Regions from separate parts of the Homo sapiens genome. Here regions 1, 2, 4, 5, 6 and 7 are each linked to region 3. Evidence: promoter capture Hi-C in human tissues and cell types (Jung and others, 2019). All regions are on one chromosome and are shown on one strand. Each heading gives the region's core, a stretch centred on a gene start or on the middle of the fragment in contact. The rest is flanking DNA. Distances are from core to core; before and after follow the strand shown. Region 1 overlaps L3MBTL4 (L3MBTL histone methyl-lysine binding protein 4). Region 2 overlaps L3MBTL4 (L3MBTL histone methyl-lysine binding protein 4). Region 3 holds the start of TMEM200C (transmembrane protein 200C). Region 4 overlaps L3MBTL4 (L3MBTL histone methyl-lysine binding protein 4). Region 5 has its middle 51 kb from the start of EPB41L3. Region 6 overlaps L3MBTL4 (L3MBTL histone methyl-lysine binding protein 4). Region 7 overlaps L3MBTL4 (L3MBTL histone methyl-lysine binding protein 4).

Region 1 (3,099 bases), core at 570-3,069, 390 kb after region 3:
AACTCCTCAGCTATTCTGGCATACTATACAAGCAAGACACTTAAAAGCCAGCAGATAGAGAAGAAAATCATTTTGATCGCTGTGCTGTTTCTTAAAAGCAAAACGTGAAACTCCCATGTAAATAACACCCTCTCTACACTAAAAGGAATAGCAACATTCTTATCTTCAAGGACAAAGAGTCAAGACCAAGAAAATACTATGCAGACCTTGGTAGGCTAACTCTTAGCTTGTGGGCCTCCTGATATCATTTAGTCACATTTCACAGTTGACTATCCTTTTGCCAATACAGGATATTGGTATCGGATTCAAACTGCTTTATCCAAAATTTGGTTCACAGCCTTTATAAGATTACCTATTTAAATAAATCTTACCCTGAGCAACATAATGAGACCCTGTCTCTATAAAAATTTAGAAATTAGCCAGGTATGGTAGCTACATGCCTGAGGTCCCAGCTACTCAGGAGGCTGAGGGAGGAGGATCACTTGAGCCCAGAAGGTCAAGGCTACAGTGAGCTGTAGTCACATCGCTGCACTCCAGCCTGGGTGACAAAACGAGACTCTGTCTCAACAAAATAAAAGAGAAATCTTAAAGTTTGACCCTATCCCATTTTGTCAGAAAAATAATCTGGATCCAACTGTCTTTATATTATAAACTGGTGAGTGTACATGTTTTATAATCTCATAACTGAAATTCTAAAGTAAAAGCTATACAATCTCTCTGTGTATGTATATGTGTTTAGAATGTGTTTATACATATGTAAATGTATTATGTTGTATGTTGTGTCAACATAATAAAATCTGGCATAGTCATCAAGAAATCCCTTAAGAAATTTTATTCCAATTGATTTAAATAAATGAGTGCTCATATAAAATATATGCTAACTAACCCAAATGTTTATTTTTAGTTCACATGACTTAAGTAAATCTTTGATAAATTAATTGGTTTTTAAACTTTTGGTAAATTAGAAATATCTTCAAAATTGTCAACATATATTTTTGCCTGAGCTTACTGGTCAGACAGTAAACATCTGCTAAATGTTTTAAGGTCATGAACCTATGAACCCAGCCTAAAACAAAATGATCTTGTTTATGCAATTCGTTGATAAATAAGATCAATTTAATGTTATTGATTTAATAAAAACAGTTGTCTTCTGAGTTATCATTAAGATACCCATGTATTTAACTTTAAGGTTTACTTAGGTAAATACCTGGTATTAACAGGATGTAAAATTGGTTAATAAAAAAAAACTTGAAATAATAACTAGCTCTAATATCTCACTTTTCATAAGTAATCCAGGTATAGTAATTTTAAAAATAAATGTTAGGTAATGGTAAATGGAATAAAGTTTACAAATGAAATTTTCATATAATTTAAAATATTAAATTTATATTATTGTTAAATAATAAATCATTAAGTTTCTGGGTCGTATCCAAATAAGATAAAAACTGAAACAAATTGCTGAATAAATATAAGTCCCTTCTTGCGTCCTTAAATTTTATAAAAAGACCAAATATACTTAGGTCTAATAATCAAAATATAAATTTAAAGAAAAAAATTTGTATGAGAAAGAATCTTATATAGTAAGTTGTTGTCCTAAGATAAAATGATTGGTTGTCCCAAAGTTTTTTTAAAAAGAGAAAAATTGTAGGACTGAGACTGAGGATTGGGGAAAATGATAAAGGTCTAAACAAGTTTAAAAAGATTTATAAAGAATGGGTCTTAGGAAGGACATTTTATGTGTGACTGGGTTTAAAGAGATTGGGAAAAATTTGCTTGTTTTTCTAAAATTTCTAAAAATTAAATGTTAGTGTGAGGGGTGCACTGATACAGGACCAGAGTCTAGTCCTCTATATTTAAAACAACAAGGTTTTTTTGAAATATTGATCTGCTCTTTAAAAAATTACAACAGGTTTTGATTTTTATTTATAAAATCTGTTTAACAGCCATCTTCTAAACTGCGCAATTCCTATTCCTAACACTTTTCTTCATGAGATCCTTTTAGTTTCCCTAGTTTCAAGTTTAAAATGTTGTCCTCTTCATTTAAAATGGTAATTTGATTTCTTTAGGTAAAGTTTTCCTTTTAAAATTTCTCAGATTCCTGTCTCAGAGGTTAATCTTTGCTGTATCTCCCTGCATGTGATTTATAGGTCAGACATCACTGCCTTCAGCTTGTTCTCCCCTTGAGAAGGACTGGGATGACAACTCTCTACTTCAACTTTTTTTTTTCAGATCCTGTAACTTGTCAGTACAATTCTAACTCAGCTGTTATGGCCTGACAGTGAAATGTTTATCTTGAAGGCTTGGAAAAGCAATGTTTTCATGCAGTATAACTTGATTCTGTCCTCATGAATTGCTACATACATAACCTTGGACACATTTTTCCTGTATCTGATCAAGTAACCTTTCATCAGATTTCACTTCCAGGTTATCTTTTTGTTTCTTTGTTTTTTGTTTTTGTTTGTTTGAGACAGGGACTTGCTCTGTTGCCTAGGCTTGAGTGCAATGGTGTGATCATAACTCACAGCTTCAACCTCTTGAGCTCAAGGAATCCTCTGGCCTCAGCCTCCTGAGTGGCTGGGACCACAGACACGTGTCACCACACCCGGCTAATTTTGTTTATTTCTTGTAGAGACAAGGTCTCACTAGGTTGCCCAGGCTGATCTCCTGGGCTCAAACGATCCTACCACCTGGATCTCCCAAAGTGCCTGGGTTACAGGCATGAGGTGCCGTGCCCAGCCTACTTCCAGGTTACCTAAATGAGCTTCCTATAAAAAGGAACAATCAGACTGCAGAAGGGTTTTTTTTTTTTTTTACCTTTTTGGTAGCTTGCCTAAGAAACAGAGTGTATAGTTTATCAATATAATTTCCTGTGTTGCCTTTATTAGGTTTTTGATTACTTAAAAACTAAACAAAACAAAAACTAAGCTTTAAAAGAATTAAGGATGTTTTCCATTTAATTCTCTGTATTGCTTTTCACAGCTTTTTGATTATCACTATGGCTACATGAATGACTTTAATTTTACAAGTGAACTGACTGGAATTCTTTTATTTTTTTTTTTTAATTTTTTGAGACAGAGTCTCGCTCTATCACCCAGGTTG
Region 2 (3,084 bases), core at 102-2,601, 500 kb after region 3:
CCAATCAAAAAGTCTGAAAGTTCACAAATTAACAACTTATTGTCACACTTCAGGGAACTAGAGAACAAGAGCAAACTAAACTCAAAGCTAGCAGAAGAAAAGAAATAACAAGGATCAGAACAGAATGAAGTGAAATTGAAAAACAAAGATACAAAAGATCAATGAAACAAAAACCTGGTTCTTTGAAAAGATAAACAAAATTGATATACCATTATTAGCTATATTAACCAAGAAAAGAAGAGACAACATTCAAATAAGCTGAATTAGAAATGAAAGTGGAGACATTACAACCAACACCACAGAAATACAAAAAATCCTTCGAGACTGCTATGCACACCTCTATGCACACAAACTAGAAAATCTAGAGGAAATGGATAAATTCTTGAAACATACGACCTTCCTAGATTAAATCAGGAAGAAACAGAAACCATGAACAGACCAATAACAAGCAGTGAGACTGAATCAGTAATTTAAAAATCACCAGCACCAACAACAAAACCTAGGGCCAGACGTATTCACAGCTGAATTCTACCAGACATTCAAAGAACAACTGGTCCCAATCCTACTGAAACTATTCCAAAAGATTGAGAAAAAGGGAATCCTCCCTAATTCATTTGATGAAACCAGTACCACCCTGATACCACAACCAGGAAAGGACATAACAAAAAAAAACAAAAGTCTACAGACAAATATCCCTGATGAACACAGATGCAAAAATCTTCAACAAAATACTAGCTAATTGAATCCAACAGCACATCAAAAGATAATACACCATGATCAAGTGGGTTTCATCCCAGGGATGCAAGAATATTTTAACATACATAAGTCAAGAAATGTGACACATCACACAAACAGAATTAAAAACAAAAACCATATGATCATCTCAATAGATACAGAAAAAGCATTTTATAAAATCCAGCATCCTTTATGATAAAAACCCTCAACAAACTAGGCATAGAAGAGATTTACTTAAAAACAATAAAAGCCATATATGGAAAACCCACAGGCAATATCACACTGAATAGAGAAAAGTTGAAAGCATTCCCCATGAGACCAGAACAAGACAAGGATGACCACTTTCACCATTTCTATTCAACATAGTGATAGTAACACTAGTCATAGCAATCAGACAAGAGAAAGAAATAAAGGGGATCCAGATTGGAAAAGAGGGAGTCAAACTAACACTGTTCACCTATGATATGATCATATGCCTAGAAAACCCTAAAGATTCCTCCAAAGGCTCCTAGATTTGATAAGCAAATTTGGTAAAGTCTCAGGTTACAAAATCAACGTACACAGATTAATAGCACCACTAAATACCAACAATGACCAAGCCGAGACTCAAATCAAGAACGCAATCCCTTTACAACATCTGCAAACAACAACAACAACTACTACTACTACTACTACTACTACTAGGACTATACTTAACCAAGCAGGTGAAAGATCTCTACAAGGATAACTGCAAAACACTGCTGAAATAAATAACAGATGACACAACAAATGGAAACACATCACATGCTCATGGATGGGAAGAATCAATATTGTGAAAATAACCATACTGCCCAAAGTACAAATTCAGTGCAATTCCTATCAGAACACCAATATCATTTTTAATAGAATTAGAACAATCCTAAAATTCATATGGCATGTGGAACCAAAAAGGAGCCCAAATAGCCAAAACAACCCTAAGCATAAAGAATAAATCTGGAGGCATCACATTACCAGACTTCAAATTATACTATAAGTCTACAGTTACCAAAACAGCATGGTACTGGTATAAAAGTAGGCACACAAACCAATGGAACATAATAGAGAGCCCAGAAATAAAGCCAAATACTTACAACAAAAGCATACAGCAACATAAATTGGAGAAAGGACACCCTATTAATAAATGGTGCTGGAGCCAGGCGCAGTGGCTTACATCCGCAATCCCAGCACTTTAGGAGGCCAAGGTGGGTGGATCACTTGAGATCGGGAGTTCAAGACCAGCCTGGCCAACATGGCAAAGCTCCATCTCTACTAAAAATACAAAAATTAGCTGGGCATGGTGGCACACGCCTATAATCCCAGCTACTCAGGAGGCTGAGGCAGCAGAATCATTTGAACCTGGGTGGCAGAGGTTGCAGTGAGCCAAGATCGTGCCACTGCACTCCAGCCTGGGCAACAGAACGAGAGACTCTGTCTCAATAAATAAATAAATAGTGCTGGGAAAACTGAATAGCCACATGTAGAAGAATGAAACTGGATCCCTAATTCTCACCCTATACAAAAATCAACTCAAGATGTATCAAAGACTTAAGACCTGAAACCAAAAAATTCTAGAAGATAACCTTGGAAAAACTCTTCCAAACATCAGCCTAGGCAAAGAATTTATTACTAAGACTTCAGAAGCAAATGCAACAAGAACAAAACTAAATAAATGGAACCTAATTAAACTAGGTGAAGTAACTCAGGAATGGGAAACCAAATTCCATATCTTCTCATTTATAAGTGTGAGCTCAGCTATGAGGACACAAAGACATATAGAGTGGTATCAAGAACTTTGGAGACTCAGAAGTGGGGAGAGTAGGAAGGAAATGAGAGACAAAAAAAACTACATATCAGATACAATGTATACTATTTGGCTTATGGGTACATTAAACCTCAGAATTCACCACTATACAATTCAACCATGTAACCAAAAACCACTTGTAACCCAAAAGTGATTGAAATAAAAAAAAAAATTTTAACTATAAAGATAATAAACCCCCTATAGAGCCTACAGACATCATATTTAATTTATGCGAATTCAACGGGCCAAATGTAATCACACATTATATGAATCACAAATATTTGCTTTTTTAGATATGCAACTAATTTCTCTGTGCACTATCTCACGTTAGCTTTCTGTGATGCTCCTAGGACAGAAACTTAGCCCCAAACCGGAATTCAGCGGAAGTAAAGGATAAGCCTGGTTCACCTGACTCCTGCTGAGTCCAGGCTCCTGGATTGTGTTCTATGCCACCTAATTCTCACAGGGAGCATGAGTGGTGACACAGGGAGAGGATCAGGAATAAGCTTGAAATGAAAGCCCACAATGCT
Region 3 (3,034 bases), core at 4-2,503:
AACAGTCCTTTACCGCACATCTTTAAAATGAGTTTAATAGCTAGTAATTAACTCCCTCGTTTATTATTCCTTCAGCTCTGTTGAAGGCTGTACTCCCTTTTAATGTATCATCATCTGACACGAAATACAGACAAAGGTCAGATGCCACGGGAGACCCACCTTTGAGGTTTTCCTTTATACCTAATGAAAGAAAACAAACTTAGCAGTCAAGCTTGGCTGCCCTCGCAATTTACTGCCTGGAGCTGGTCTTACCGTGGTTAAAGAATGGAGGATGGGGGAAGCAAAGGAGGGATGTCTAAAAATACAACTGCTTCCAAGAGAGACATTCAAGTTCTCCGCTCAAGATGGATTAAGCCCCACTCTGAGGCTCGGAGGCTCGGATCCCACAGGCTGGGAGCGCTGTGCTGTGCCCGGTACCCAACCCAGGTCCTCGACCCCGGCCCCTCACTGGCAGGGCGGCGACCCCCTGGCCCCTGGCTTTGGTCTGCTTATTGATGTTAGCTGGAGTCACATGAGTGCAGCAGCTGGGAGTCCGCCTCTGGAAAGAAGACAGGCAGGAGCCAAGTGAGGGCAATCCTGAACTAGCTTTTTCTGGGCAGCGCATCCCGTGTAGCCAGCCCGGGAAAAAGCCTCTCACCGAACACCAGCCCGGGGCGCGGGGACTCGGGGACCCGAGGGGCGGGGAGGGGCCCCCAAGGGCTGGGGACTGGCAGAATTGCTCAAAATGGCAGCACTCTCCGCACGCAAGATCGCTCACTTACCCAGGGAGACCGAGGGAGGTCGGGGCCGGCGAACGGGCGCTCGGGCGACACAAAGGAACCATGGAGAAACTTTTTCAGCCCGAGCCGACGGCGGAGCGCAGGGACAGCGCCCCGGGGCCCCGCATCCGAGCGCGACTCAGCAGCCCCGCGGGGGCGAGCGCCCGCCCCAGGCTCGCAGTCCCCGCCGGCGCTGTGGCGGGAGCCATTTCCAAGAGTTTCCAAGAAGTGTCAGGTCCTCCGCATCCCGCATCCCGCATCCCGCCTCGGAGCCCTCCTCTCCGCCGCTCATCCTCCAGCTCCCGGCGTCCCCTAGCGCGGCGCTCCCGGGCGGGCCCCTGCGGCCGCGCCGCCGGCCCTCGCGCCTCTTTTGTGTGGCTGCGGCGCGCCGGGCTCCGCCGGGTGGAGTTGAGCCCGCGGCGGCGGCTCGGGGCGGCCGGACTGGCGGCTGTTGCTAAGAGACCGGAGCCATGACACAGGGAAATTGCGGCAGGGTGGCGGTCGGGGCCCGCCCGGCTCGGCGGAGTCGGGGGGCGCCCCCGCCCCCGCCCCCCGCCCCACCCCCTCCTCCGGCGCCCCCCCCCACGCCGCCGGCCTTCCCCGCTCCCCCGCGTCCTCCGCCGCCCGCCGCCCGTCCCTTCGGAAGCGCCGATTCCTCGGGGAGGAGGAGGCGTGAGGGGAGGCGGCGGAGGCAGCCGGCACGGGGCGCTCGGGCCGCGGGGCAGGGGGCGCGGGGTGCCTCCTCGGCCTCGGCTCTCCCCGCCCCGGGGCGCCCCGAGACCGCCGCCTGCCTCCGCGGGCAGCTTTGTTCTTCTTTCCTCCAACTACCTGTCTGAGCCGCGGGCCCCAGAGGCCCCAAAGAGAGGCCCGGAGGGTCTCCCCAGCAGCATCCGAGGGGCGCTCTCGGGGAGCTAGGGGCCAGAGTCCGCGGTCCCTCCGTGCCTGCCTCCCTCCCCTCGTGCCTCGGTCTTTTGTTGCCTCTACTCCTCGGCACGGCGCAGCCTGGGCTCTCTTCCCCCTCCCGCTTGGGAGTTTGCAGTGTGGACGCTCGGCAAGCACAGTAAGTTGTCCCCCAGCGAACTCGGGCCCGGGCGGAGTGGAGCCGCCCCCGCCGGGACGGGCGCACCGCGGGACGCTTGGAAGCCTCTGCCAGATGCGCTCGCGCTCCAGCCCCGCCGGGCTTTGTGACCAGCCTGACCGGGACCCGGCAGCTGGGGCTCCTCGGAGATCAGAATGGGCTCCGGGGCTCTTCCTTGGGCAGCCCCTCCTGCTCCTCCCCGGTGCGGTAATCAGCAAGCATTAAAAGGAAAACTATAATTCTCCAGGAATCAGGAATCAGGGTTGGAATCAGAGAGGGGAGGTGGGGGTAGGGAGGATGTCCAAACTCCCTACGTCATTTAAAAAAGAGAGAAGGCGAGAGAGAGAGAGAAAGAGATCGAGATCCTGTTTCCTAGTTCATCCCTGTCTTCTCAACTGTAAAGTAAAAATGACAGGGAAAAGAGAATTTCAAAGTGGAATTTCCCCAAAGAGTATTGAGAAAGTGAGAAAGATTTCATTTATCTATTGAAATGAGGCAGCCAGGATTCAGGAAGAAAGGAACAGAAGAGCAGATGAAGCAAGTGCTGTCTGAAATTTTGGATCCAGATAAATATTTTGGTGGTGGTGGGTGTTATATATTCTGAGTTTTGCTGCTTAGGGGTCCACAAAACCCACACAGGAGGGCTCTGCTGCCCGCAGCTCCTGTTACAAGATTGTTCCCCACATACACAGCATTCACTTGTGCTTAAATCTAGAGCAGACACTTTTCAAAAAGAACAATAAAGACAACCAATTTACAAGTTCAATGATATAAATGTGAACAGTGATCTAAGAGATGGGGATAGAGACGGTGGGGGACAGGAGGGAACGAAGCAGAAGTGTTTTCTAAAAGGCAACCCTGCATTCACCTGTTGGAAAGGTGGCCTCTGTCACCCTTTTCAAGCAAATAACGAATCTGAATGATGATCAGGGTGTCCGGAACCCACCGCCTTCCCCCTACCTATTCATGCTCAGATTCAGGCTATTAGAAAACAAACCATAATGAAGGGAAAGTTTTAAATCCCACATTGGGTTGTTTCCTTTTAGAGAAATCACTGCAAAGGAAAAATAATAAGATCTAGTTGTCGTTTTCTAAAGCCTTTTTGGCTCTGAACTTCCAGATCTCCTGAATCCCAATAATAATCTGGTATTTTTTACAAAGATTGGGCCTACAGTCTCATTTCATTGCACAGCTAGCT
Region 4 (2,900 bases), core at 87-2,586, 350 kb after region 3:
GCCACTATTTGAAAAAGTGGTGAAGATATGCTCTAATTAGCACCAAAGTATCCTGTTAATTTGATTACTCAATCTGAAAATAAGTGGCTTTTTCAATATTTAAGAAATACATGCTTAAATAAAATTATAATTTAAAATGTGTATTTATATATAATTTATATATATTTAACATATAATTTAAATTTATAATTTTAAAATGTGAGTGCTTTTTTACTATCTGTGCTTTTCTTAGTATAAAAATACTATGAACTATGATTTACAATAACATAACAATTACAAACCCACCCTTCATATATCTATAATTAGCCAATCCTGGGATTTAGGGAGTACATACAGTATCCGGGAACTGAAAGAGGGTGTTTTTCTCTACTTCTCTTTCATCAAACCCTGATTTTTATTCTCCTTCAGCACATTCTATTTTTACAGCAACTTCACGTTTTAATAGCTCCTTTTCTTGATACAAATCTAGGAAACATATTTAACGATTGTATAACACTGCTTTCAAGATCACAGAAGTGATGTCTGGAGAAATTCAGTGAGTGGCCTGCACAGTGACACCGCCTGCCAGTGGCAGAGCCGACTTCTGGAGTTGCAATTTATTCTCCTCCACTGAAGGTTCACTAGATTTCTGGGGACACGGATGGCATAAGAAGTGTGATCTACCCAGATCCGCAGAACACCCCTTCAATTAGTACAAAATGTTACTCTCATTTTCATTACACTTAAATATATCTAGGCTGGGTACATTCAAAGCCTACTTAGAGTATCTGCTGGTTTCAAAACACCAAAAGCAAGATTAAAGGATTAACTCCCTGTAAGGGAAAACATTTTTAAAAGACACTTTCAATTTTAGTAGGCTTTAAACATAAAGTTTTTAAGTTTTCCCAACTTTTTCTCATCTAATTGAAGTATTTAATTATACTTTTAAAGGAAGAAAACCAAGATATGCCCACAAGAAACTGACGAATTAGGTGAGAAAAGTGACAGGAAGTTAACAGTTTCCATAACTTCTTAAAGGATTAAAATAAAACAGAATATATAGTGAATTTTAAGAAATTTAAGCTTGGGGGAAATTTGATTTATGCTGGGAAAGAAAATACTTACAGGACTTCTGTTTCTGAATAATTTCTTTGGAGCATTTTGCAATTTGCAGGCCTTCAAGTAATCCATCCAAACAAATTTATCTTTTCTATAACCTAAAAAAAGCACAGATTACTCAAAATACCCAAAAGATGTAATCACATGCATATTAAATATATTAGGTTGGTGCAAAAGTAAGTGCGGTTTTGGCCATTACTTTTAATGGAAAAAAAACGCAATTACTTTTGCACCAACCTCATATGGTTATTATTAGTGTCCTGCCATAAATTCAACGTCCTTAGCACCCACAAAAGATTTAAATTAAAATCTCCAAATTGTTTCACCTTTTTAAAATGTATTATGTGCAAAACTGTTGATAGTGCTTCCCCATCACGCGCATCATTCCCGATACAATTTCACATGCTCTGATACGGAGTCAGTACTCTGGTGGCCTGATGGGAGTCTCATCGCCCATTAAGGCTTTCCTGAATGGGCAAAGGGATGAGACCAGAGTTCCCGTACCTGTCCCCACTCCTGAGGAAGAGACTTTACAGAGACCATCAGAGGTCCTGAGGGTGCAGCCATCCAGGATGCCAGGCACAGAAACGCCTTCTCAATCCAATGCCCACTCCACAGCTCCAGCTTTCTGCGCCGCATCTTTACTAGTCTCCCATTAAAAACTGCTGCATCCTCCCATTCGCATGCCCTGGCGTGGCTCTCACACAGTGCTGGCCAAACAGTACAGGCTCAAAATATGGTTCTGAGCACCAGCCTTGGAACAGAAGTCAAACTCCCTGCACAGCCTTCCAGGCCTGGGAACACCACCCTCTTCGTCCCCGACCTTCCCACCTGGGCGCTTCTCTGCTGTCTCCCTGAGATGACTCATCCTCGCAAAGCGCACTCCTGCCCCGGCGCCTGCTCCTGTTCTTCCCTTGGAGGGCTTACCCAGACACCACACTGCTTCCTCTGTCATTTCACCCACGTCTCTTTGGAACATTATGTCCACAGAGAGGCCTTTCTCCCCCATGCTTTCTGAAAGAGTGTCCCTGCAGCCACCGCCATTATCCTTCTCCTCTGAAATGAAGCCCCGTGGAGATAGAGACATTGCTTTACTTGCTACTGGCCCTCAGTGCCTCACGTGGTAAGGGCTCCATAAATACCTACTGAATGAATGAGCCTGTAGCCTGTCACCAGCTTCCTCCAAACCAGCAACCTCAAGGACTCTGCCATCAGCCTCAGGGGAGGATCCCAAGGGACACCCTGAGTGGATAACTAGGAATAAAGGACTGTATACTGACTCCAGAAGTTGCCACAGACATCGAACAGTCTGACATCCAAGCCAGAGACAATGTACAGAAGTTTGCTGTGCAAAGATATGAGCCCGTCAGCATCATCCTTGACCACATCCCCACCTCACTTGCACACAGCAAATCGAAAAGGTTTTGGTCACATCTGCCTGGCCCAGACTCCTCTAGCACATAACAAAACCATGATATTTTTCATTCCCATCGAAAGAAAATAGTGATTTTTTTCATAGTTCTTTGTTTTCCGTGATTCCTAAGTCTGAAACAAATTACTTACAGTGAATCAAGTTTCCTCACCTTGCTGTATCATTGATTAGATATTTTGTTTCAACCATGATTTAAATATTAGTCTGCACTGCTTATAAGGTTTAATAAACTTTATATAAAATAAAATAAAATGCTTTCATAATATTTTATTTCTGCCTTCTGTACATTATCAGAATATTTGACCTAAATAGTCATTTATGCTTTTCTTTAAAGACATTTACTTCTAAAAATGGTACCATTATAGTCTTA
Region 5 (2,904 bases), core at 24-2,523, 300 kb before region 3:
GGTGATAGGATATCACAAGGCAAATGGAGGCAGGGCGAGATCACAGGACCATGGGACCAGGGCGAAATTAAAATTGCTAATGAAGTTTCAGGCACCATTGTCATTGAAAACATCTTATCAGGAGACAGGGTTTGAGAGCAACCGGTCTGACCAAAATTTATTAGGCGGGAATTTCCTCGTCCTAATAAGCCTGGGAGCACTATGGGAGACTGGGCCTTATTTCATCCCTAAGGTCTCAACCATAGAAAATGGCCACACCCAAGGGGGCCATTTTAGAGGCCCACCTTCAGGGGCGCATTCTCTTTCTCAGGGATGTTCTTTGCTGAGAAAAACAATTCAGCGATATTTCTCCCATTTGCTTTTGAAAGAAGAGAAATATGGCTCTGTTCCGCCCGGCTCACCGGCGGTCAGAGTTTAAGGTGATCTCTCTTGTTCCCTGAATATTGCTGTTATCCTGTTCTTTTTTCAAGGTGCCCAGATTTCATATTGTTCAAACACACATGCTCTACAATTTGTGCAGTTAACGCAATTATCACAGGGTCCTGAGGCAACATACATCCTCCTCAGCTGACAGGATTAAGAGATTAAAGTAAAGACAGGCATAGGAAATCACAAGGGTATTGACTGGGGAAGTGATAAGTGTCCATGAAATCTTCACAATTTATGTTTACAGACTGCAGTAAAGACAGGCATAAGAAATTATAAAAGTATTAATTTGGGGAACTAATAAATGTCCATGAAATCTTCACAATCCATGTTCTTCTGCCATGGCTTCAGCCGGTCCCTCCATTCGGGGTCCCTGACTTCCCGCAACACCCCCGCAAAATTTTAAATATCTGTTACCCACCATTGGTACATTACCAATCTGGTAAACCTCTCAATTACATTTAATGCACACAAAGTAAAGTTATTGAATATTTTATCCTGTGTGACCTCATTTTAAGAGGTACATAAGAAAATACTTTTTCTCTGAAGGCCTTGCATTGTAATAAAATATACGGAAAAAAATAACATGTAGTTTTCATAAAAATTGATTTAATTGGTAATTTCAAGAAGGGTAATTTAACTTTTAATTATGTCACCCTAAATTCCTAAGATTGTGTATCTTCCAGCTTCAGACTAGGCAATATCATCATTTTCCCTTCACCCAACCTTTTAGAAGGCAGACTAAAAAACCAGCTTTCTAAATTGTTTGCTCCCCTCACTGTGAATTTAAGCAGCATTTGGCAGTACTGAAGCCTTAATCTAGTCTAGCAGTGAATACTAAGGATGAAGATTTGATCAAGTTGGAAAACCACTTTCACACAGCCCTATTTCTTCTGGAATTAAACAACCAGGACATGATGTTGGATTACATAAGATTATCAAGACAAAACTATTGAAATTGTAATAGGAAACATACGGAAAATAAGGAGAAAATTATCTTTCCCGCAAGAATTAATAAAAATCTTGTTAAAAGACTATAAGGCAATGCCTTATGAGAAACTACTAAGTATACAGAATTAATCAATCCACACTAGGCACATAGAGAATATGCAATGTATTCATTGTTAGATCTCTAAAAATGACCCAGCTTTTGGCTTCTCTAATGTTGAAGTAAAAATATAGCTCAAAATTCTGGGCATTGACTTCTGGGCAAATGGTTATAACTTGCTCTGTAAAGAGAACCAGCCTAATTGTTTAAGATCCAATACCCTCCATTGAAAGAAATGCTTTGTTTCCAAGAGAATCCTTGGAGCTAAAGCAGAGAATTGACAACTGTCCATGTTAAAATAAGTGCAGAAGGAAAGATTCCACTTCATCTCCTTCAAGAGATTTATATGTAGCCCTGGAAGAAAGCTTAGCAGGAGCCACAGATTCCACACTGACTGCTCCTCCATCAGTCTGGGCTGTGCACGCCCTCCCCAGAAGCCAGGAATACACTGTCTCCTGGACAGCCTTCCATTTTCCAGCCCCTTCTTATGCCATCCTCTCAGCAAGCAGGAGCTCCTGTACCTCCTCTCCACCTTGAGGTCTACCCTAGGGGCCATCTCACGTGCCATGTCTTTTGGGAACATTTCCTGGCAGAAGGAATCTGTTGCTTATTTGTTATCTGATGTGCCCACTTCTGCAGTAATTGTGTGAAAGCTCAGAGAGTAGGATGCATCCCACCCCAGCAGCTCAAACAGTGCCTTCCCCATCAGTAAGTGTTTGATACATACTACATACTTGATTTTTAAAAAAAGGCAACTGTAGTAAATTTACTGACCGATTCTCCATTTCAGAATTCCTGGACATGTGCTTATTTTCCTTAACTGTCCACCAAAAAATTTCTAAATCGGTGCTTCTTAAGCAGGTCCATGGGGATCATGGAATACTATTGGGGGTAATCTGTAATCCTCCAAAAATTGTATATTAATTTAATGTATATTCCAGTAGGTGGCTCCCATCTTCCACTCCATCCCCACATTCTCTGGGGAATCTTTATAACCGTTTTTAAGTCTTTAAGGTAACTGTAATCCAAAAAGCAATTTAAAATTCACTGCTCTAAATTTATTTGTGTTTAAACAATGAGGTATAAGAGCTTCCTGAGATGCTTAAACAATGGAATGAGCCACCTCACATAGTGTCCATCCTCTGAATATTTCTCTGTTCGGATTGGTCCAGAAAACCACTTACCTGAAGGCCAGAATGAGCCATATGACTTCTGAGAATCTTAGATCATTGAAGCTAGAAGTGTTCCTAGCGATCACATCAGAGGGCATGGCAGAACACTGATTTCTGGGTCCCACCCCTGCAGTCTATGCTTCTGTAGGTCCTGGGGCCAAGGAATGGATTTCTAACAAGTCCCAGGTAAGGCTGACGTGCTGGTCAGTGGACCAGGCTTTGAGAACCACTTATCTAACCTTATTTCCTATATTACAA
Region 6 (2,954 bases), core at 381-2,880, 310 kb after region 3:
GTATTAGTAAGGGCATTTGGAATGTCAGAACTGCAGCTGGTCAGAAATAGTACACTTCTGTTCAGGAAAATGGCAGAGAATGTGTATGTCTCCTCCAAAGCTAAGACAAATTCCACAGACTCTTGTTTTCTCTGAAGGAATAGAGTGAGTACATATTGCACATTCTGACTGAAGGTCTGGGAAATGAGGAGGCTTCATTATCACAGCAGGTCAGAGGTCTTATACTTTTTGAGCAAATATAAAGCTTTGAATGAAGGGCCAAGAGTATGCAGAACGAAGAATCTGCTTTATCAAGAACTGTTAGTCTAAAATAAGGTCCTTACTCAAAGGTCCATTAACCCTTGAAACACAAATATAATCCTGTATTGGTGTACACTTATATGTGCATTTTGCATTGGAGCTATCTGTAGCATCCCTCAGACACTCAAAGAAATGTATATCCCTAAAAAAGAAGAGTTAAGAACAACTAGTGCTACATCATCATCTTTTATTTAAGAAGTTTCTACACAGTGTTGTGCATAGAAAACTGTGAAACATTCTATTTCTATTCTATCTGGCTCATGACTGAGCTGATGTCTCTAGCCAAATAATCATGTCAGGATCTCACTAGATCTCGCAGGTCAGGCTGGTAAGATGGGTACAGGGTGGGGGAGTTATCCAGGGAGTTCTAGAGTAGGCGCCAATTCATCACCAAGGCCACATGTTTCCGTAGTGCTGCTCGGCCCGTGTTTCCGTTATTGGTATGCTGACTTTAATAAAAATGTGAAAGGTAAGTCCCTACTACAGTTCTTGGAGAATACAAATACAGTGAGAGACTATACATCCTTTCAGGGGCTTGGCTACTTTCACACTGAAAACCAAATAAAAAGAGGGTTATCAACTGATAGGAGAAAAAAATATGTATTTCTTTTAAATCTAGAAGCTGTTGATTACATGGTAGCCCGCATTTCTTCTACCTTTTTTTACTTAATAGCTAAAATTGATCTAAAACTAGATTGAAAAGTAAATATAGATGTGATTTGGTCCAAAAATCAGATATTGGAAAAAATAAGACAAGGATACAAAACTATTTATACTAAAGGTAACAACTAATAAATTCATCTAATAGTCTAACCAGTACAGTATCTCTTAAGACAGGGGTTGGCAGATTACAGCCCACAGGCCAAAAAGACCCTTATTACCACCTGTTTCTGTGAGTCCCATGAGCTAAAAATGTTTTTTACATTTCTGAATGGCTGGGGAGAAAGTCAAGAGAAGATTGTTTCATGACATGTGAAAAGTATGTGTGATGCAAATTTCAGAGTCATTTATTTGTTTATATATTGTCTCTGGCTGTTTTTGTGATGAACAGCAGAGTCGAGCAGTTACTGCAGAGACCACATGGCCCACAAAGCCTGAAATATTTACTCTCTGGCTCCTTACAAAAAAGGCACTGCCACCTGGTTTAAGAGCTCAGGCTGAAGAACCAGGCCAACTGGTTCCCACCTGGCTCTACCACTTATAAGCTGTGCAACCTTGGCCAAGTCTTTTAAGCTTTCTGCGCCTATTTCCTTACATATGCTACTTTATTGGGTTGCTGTGAAGAATAAGAGTAAGAAAATGGGAAGCAAGGACACAGCAGCATGGGGGTTTGAGTGAGCCAGCTCTAGTACTGTCACTGCTCTTCTTCATTTTACCTGGAATTAACTGAGGCACGTTCACCTGGTTGAGCACTCTCTCTGCTTCAACTTTTCTGGAATTCATGGCTGACACTAATTTATAGTTTTACCTACTCAAAAAATCATCTTTTCATTGATGGGTCATAACACTTCTGAAAATTGTCCCAGTCTCCTTCCCAAATGAAGACAGCCATCAATCACTGTGACACTGTGATGACCATTAATTACAAGCTTAGCTCAAAGGACATATATTTTTAATGTTGGTATCTTGCTCTATCCTCGTATTTCAAAGCCCTTTTCAAAAATGCATCCCAGGCCAGGTGCGACGTCTCACACCTATAATCCCAGAACTTTGGGAGCCGAGGCAGGTGGATCACTTCAGCTCAGGAGTTCAAGACCAGCCTGGGCAACACTGCAAACCCCCATCTCCGCAAAGAAAAAAAAAATTAACAAAAATTAGCTAGGTGTGGTGGCGCACACTGTAGTCTCAGCTACTCAGGAGGCTGAGGTGTGAGAATTGTGTGAGCCCATGGAGGTCAAGGCTGCGGCAGGCCATGATTGTGCCACTGCACTTTAGCCTAGGCGACAAAACAAGACCCTGTCTAAAAAATAAATAAATAAATAAATAAATAAATAAATAAATAAATAAATAATGCATTCCAGTTAGATAGAGGTCAGGTGGCTTTCTGGAAGCACAGGCAACCCTTAGTAAAGTGAACATCACTAACTCATATCTGGACTTTTGTTTTGCATTAATACTCCTGCAGGTTTTTCTCAAACAAGAGCTTTTGAACTTATTGGTCTGACATAAAACCCAAAATAGTTTCTAGTTACATAACTAGACAGCCATAACAATTTCTCTTGGTCATGATGCTCTAATTTCATTGTGAAATGCCACAAATATGTCCAGTTAATGCATTAAATAGGAAAAGACTTGTTGAAGAGACTCAATTTATTAATGATTCAGTAGAACTTATTAAAGCATCTATTTGAAATTCATTTATAATTCATTTCACAGCTTAGCTGCATTTCCCACAGGGCAAATATTTATCAAATGTTACTCTGTTTTAAGTCCTTCCTTTATCTTTATTTGTAGAATACTTTTTCCCACAAATAATGGCTAAACTTCCTAAAAGCATCCACCCATCTACTGTAATTTAATGTGCATTTTCTGATAAGGCAACAGTAATGGGCTTTCAGATATAACAGCACACACTGTACAACCAAACAAAAGAATAATTATTAAACATAATAGCTGGCTATAAATTGAACAAGATACACTGAGTACATCATAAA
Region 7 (2,863 bases), core at 259-2,758, 370 kb after region 3:
TTTGGTGTCTTGGGTAAAGATGATCCCCTGTAAGGCCCAGATGGTCAAGGAAGTCTACACCAGCTGCTCTGTTCACCTTTCTAGTCATGTATGCCAGGATTCAGGGGTTTCAATGTCTTCTCTAACATCTTGCTTGACTCACCACTCTTAGAAACACATCCAAACAGATCCCTCTAACTGCAGGTAATACTGGCTAATAGAAGTAAAACCTAACACTTTCTTGAGCATTTATAGTATGCACATTGCATCCTATATCCTTTACGGGTACAACTGATTTAGTCCTCCAACCACCCAAGGAGAAAGGTAGGGAACCTTTCCTACCTCATGGATGAGGAAACTGAACTGAATGACTTGCCCAAGGTCACAGAGCTGGCAGGTGGCGGCGCCGGGCTCCAGCCCACTCTGAAACACTAAAGCTCTGATTAGGTTTGTGGGGTCATTTTCCAGCAGAGCCTACAAATAATTCAAATAAGTTGATGGGCTATCTAGGAAAGTCATTTCATTTAAACTAAACCTCTTAAGTGTTGCTTCCTTGCAAAAATATAAGTCCTTCAGTGGCTGACCTTGGAAAACAGCTCAACAGGTGCTGCGACAGCCTTCTGTTCTTTCAAGTACCACTCCCAAGACCATGCTCCCTGTGCAGCCGCTGAAGGGACTGGAAGAGAAAACACAATGACTTTTCTCAAAATGATTAGTGACAGGAAAATAATAAAACTTACTTGACAATAAACTCAAGAAGCAGGCTAATTAGTTAAATTGGTAGTTGAAAGACCCAGCAACTAAGAAGAGTCTTCTCTCTCAATTCATATGAACATTTAGTAAAATCACCTAACCACTCCATATTCAGCTCTTCCTGTTTCGGACCAGGCTAATGAATATGTCTCACCCTCTAGAAAATGCCTAGTGAACTCTCAAGTTAGGTACCATCTTGCTCCTCTCTAAGAGGGTGAACAGGCACAGGCTTTCTGGAAAGTGATTTAGCTAATTTTACAGTTAATAGTCTAAAGTTTTTTATAATCTCCTTCCACTTTCATACTTCTTTTTGCTGTGAATGTCAATTGGCACAACCTGTGGAAAGCTAATGTGGCAGTATTTGTCAAAGCTTAAAAATCGTTCCTGGCCTGGCGTGGTGACTCACGCCTGTAATCCCAGCACTTCGGGAGGCCAAGGCAGGTGGATCACCTGAGGTCAAGAGTTTGAGACCCGCCTGGCCAATATGGTGAAACCCCGTCTCTACTAAAAATACAAAAATTAGCTGGGCATCGTGGCGGGTGCCTGTAATCCCAGCTACTTGGAAAGCTGAAGCAGGAGAATTGCTTGAACCCAGGAGGTGGAGGTTGCAGTGAGCCGAGATCGCACTACTGCACTCCAGCCTGGGCCACAAGAGCGAAATCTCATCTTGGGGAAAAAAAAATCGTTCCTAAAAGTCGAACCAGCAATTCTCCTAGGAATTTGTCTTAATGCAATCGCAGTAGACACGCCCAAGGGGCAAAACACAAGAGTTTTTTTCCTAGAATCCCACATCAAATTAAACACTGGAAACAAAGTAAAGGTCCACAAAGGAGGAGGTAATTAAACGCGTTACATGGACATGCCCTTTCAAAACCAGCCAGTAAATTGCTTTGTAGACAACTGTCTAAAGGCAGAGAAGGACTATGTAATGATATACTACTAAGTAGGAAAAAGAAGCAGTTAAGGAAACAAATTGATCATTTTTGGTAAATGTGTAATAGATTAAATGATCATTTTTGGTAAATGTGTAATAGATTAAATAAGACTAAACTTACATAAATCAAAAACATTCAAATGAAATCATCTTAAGTGCCAGAATTATAAATAATTCCTTCCCAATTTTCTTTGTGCTTTCTTTTTCTGCTTTCCAAATTTTCTAGATGAATAGCTAATCTTTGTAATTCAACAAAATTATCATTTTTGAATAACAAAAGCTGGCAAAAAGGATTAATAGTTATCTCAGGTTTACATTCTACTCCCCAGTACTTCTTCTCTAGGATTACATACTAAGAGAGTAGTTAAGCACTGATAAAAGTTGATGGTAAAAATGTACATCACAAAATAACAGCAAAATGCAAAGTAGTATTAATATGGGAAGGAGGTTAAAGAAACTATTGTATATACATACATATATGATTCTGAGGTTATCGAAAACTATATTTTTATGCTTTATGTATTTAATATATTTTGAGAATTATCTGGGTTAAGTAAAAAAACTAAGTAAAGACACAAAACGGTGTCTATTTAGATCATATCTGCTGTTTTGTGTCCTTACTTATGCTAAGTGAAATAAGTTAGGCACAGTGAAATAAGTTAGGCACAGAAAAATAAATACTGCATGATCTTATAGACATGCAATAAAAAAAAGTCAAACTCATTGAAGCAGTGCTTAGAAAGGTGGTTACCAGAGGCTGGATGACAAAGGAATCGGGAATGGGGAGATGTTGCCCAAAGGATACAACGTTCCAGTTAGACAGCAGGCATAAGCTTTAGAGATATGTTCCACAGCATGCTGACTATAGTGAATAATGTTATATACCTCAAAACTGCTAAAAAGAATAGATTTTAAATATTCTCATGACAAAAAACATAAGTATGTGAGGTGACGGATATGTTAATTCACTTGATATAATCATTCCACAAGCATATTTCAAAAATTACATTTTACCCCATAAATATATACAATTATTTCTCATTTAAAAATAAAAAAACATACATACATATATATTATACAAGTTATTCCATATATTAAGACATTCATTTATTCACATATTTATACAGCAACTTCTATGTGCTAAGCAACAGGCATATGTATGTCCACACAACCAAACACATTCACGTAGAAAAGCAA

Evidence for each region. Contacts are between HindIII fragments. The study calls those that stand out against the background at their distance.
Region 1: a fragment that was not itself captured here is called in contact with the fragment with the promoter of TMEM200C in region 3 in 1 of the 25 tissues and cell types used here (IMR-90 fibroblasts).
Region 2: a contact is called between a fragment that was not itself captured here and the fragment with the promoter of TMEM200C in region 3, in 1 of the 25 tissues and cell types used here (dorsolateral prefrontal cortex).
Region 4: a contact is called between a fragment that was not itself captured here and the fragment with the promoter of TMEM200C in region 3, in 2 of the 25 tissues and cell types used here (dorsolateral prefrontal cortex and lymphoblastoid cells).
Region 5: a contact is called between a fragment that was not itself captured here and the fragment with the promoter of TMEM200C in region 3, in 2 of the 25 tissues and cell types used here (mesendoderm cells and spleen).
Region 6: a fragment that was not itself captured here is called in contact with the fragment with the promoter of TMEM200C in region 3 in 7 of the 25 tissues and cell types used here (IMR-90 fibroblasts, aorta, dorsolateral prefrontal cortex and 4 more).
Region 7: a contact is called between a fragment that was not itself captured here and the fragment with the promoter of TMEM200C in region 3, in 1 of the 25 tissues and cell types used here (mesendoderm cells).

The regions. Positions count from the first base shown.
Region 1 is chr18:6,287,478-6,290,576 of GRCh38, forward strand. All of the region lies in intron 4 of L3MBTL4 (L3MBTL histone methyl-lysine binding protein 4), which reads right to left. Among named protein-coding and RNA genes, the nearest start is that of L3MBTL4-AS1, 32 kb to the left of the region's middle. The HindIII fragment of the contact is 5,819 bases long and covers 1-3,099 here.
Region 2 is chr18:6,390,363-6,393,446 of GRCh38, forward strand. The region is part of intron 1 of L3MBTL4 (L3MBTL histone methyl-lysine binding protein 4); the gene reads right to left. Among named protein-coding and RNA genes, the nearest start is that of MIR4317, 17 kb to the left of the region's middle. The HindIII fragment of the contact is 4,562 bases long and covers 1-3,084 here.
Region 3 is chr18:5,894,269-5,897,302 of GRCh38, forward strand. TMEM200C (transmembrane protein 200C) reads right to left here and starts at 1,254. Exons shown (of 2, transcript NM_001395400.1): 1 at 762-1,254. All of the region lies in intron 9 of MIR3976HG (MIR3976 host gene), which reads left to right. It overlaps LOC121725015 (a long non-coding RNA gene), which reads left to right and starts at 1,459. Exons shown (of 3, transcript NR_172505.1): 1 at 1,459-1,818. The HindIII fragment of the contact is 12,914 bases long and covers 1-3,034 here.
Region 4 is chr18:6,240,254-6,243,153 of GRCh38, forward strand. L3MBTL4 (L3MBTL histone methyl-lysine binding protein 4) reads right to left here. Exons shown (of 19, transcript NM_001330559.2): 8 at 1,105-1,196. Among named protein-coding and RNA genes, the nearest start is that of L3MBTL4-AS1, 15 kb to the right of the region's middle. The HindIII fragment of the contact is 6,749 bases long and covers 1-2,900 here.
Region 5 is chr18:5,593,489-5,596,392 of GRCh38, forward strand. It overlaps a transcript of EPB41L3 not described here. Among named protein-coding and RNA genes, the nearest start is that of EPB41L3, 51 kb to the left of the region's middle. The HindIII fragment of the contact is 8,110 bases long and covers 1-2,904 here.
Region 6 is chr18:6,205,852-6,208,805 of GRCh38, forward strand. The region is part of intron 12 of L3MBTL4 (L3MBTL histone methyl-lysine binding protein 4); the gene reads right to left. Among named protein-coding and RNA genes, the nearest start is that of L3MBTL4-AS1, 49 kb to the right of the region's middle. The HindIII fragment of the contact is 5,486 bases long and covers 1-2,954 here.
Region 7 is chr18:6,263,384-6,266,246 of GRCh38, forward strand. It overlaps L3MBTL4 (L3MBTL histone methyl-lysine binding protein 4), which reads right to left. Exons shown (of 19, transcript NM_001330559.2): 5 at 564-655. Among named protein-coding and RNA genes, the nearest start is that of L3MBTL4-AS1, 8.1 kb to the left of the region's middle. The HindIII fragment of the contact is 3,896 bases long and covers 1-2,863 here.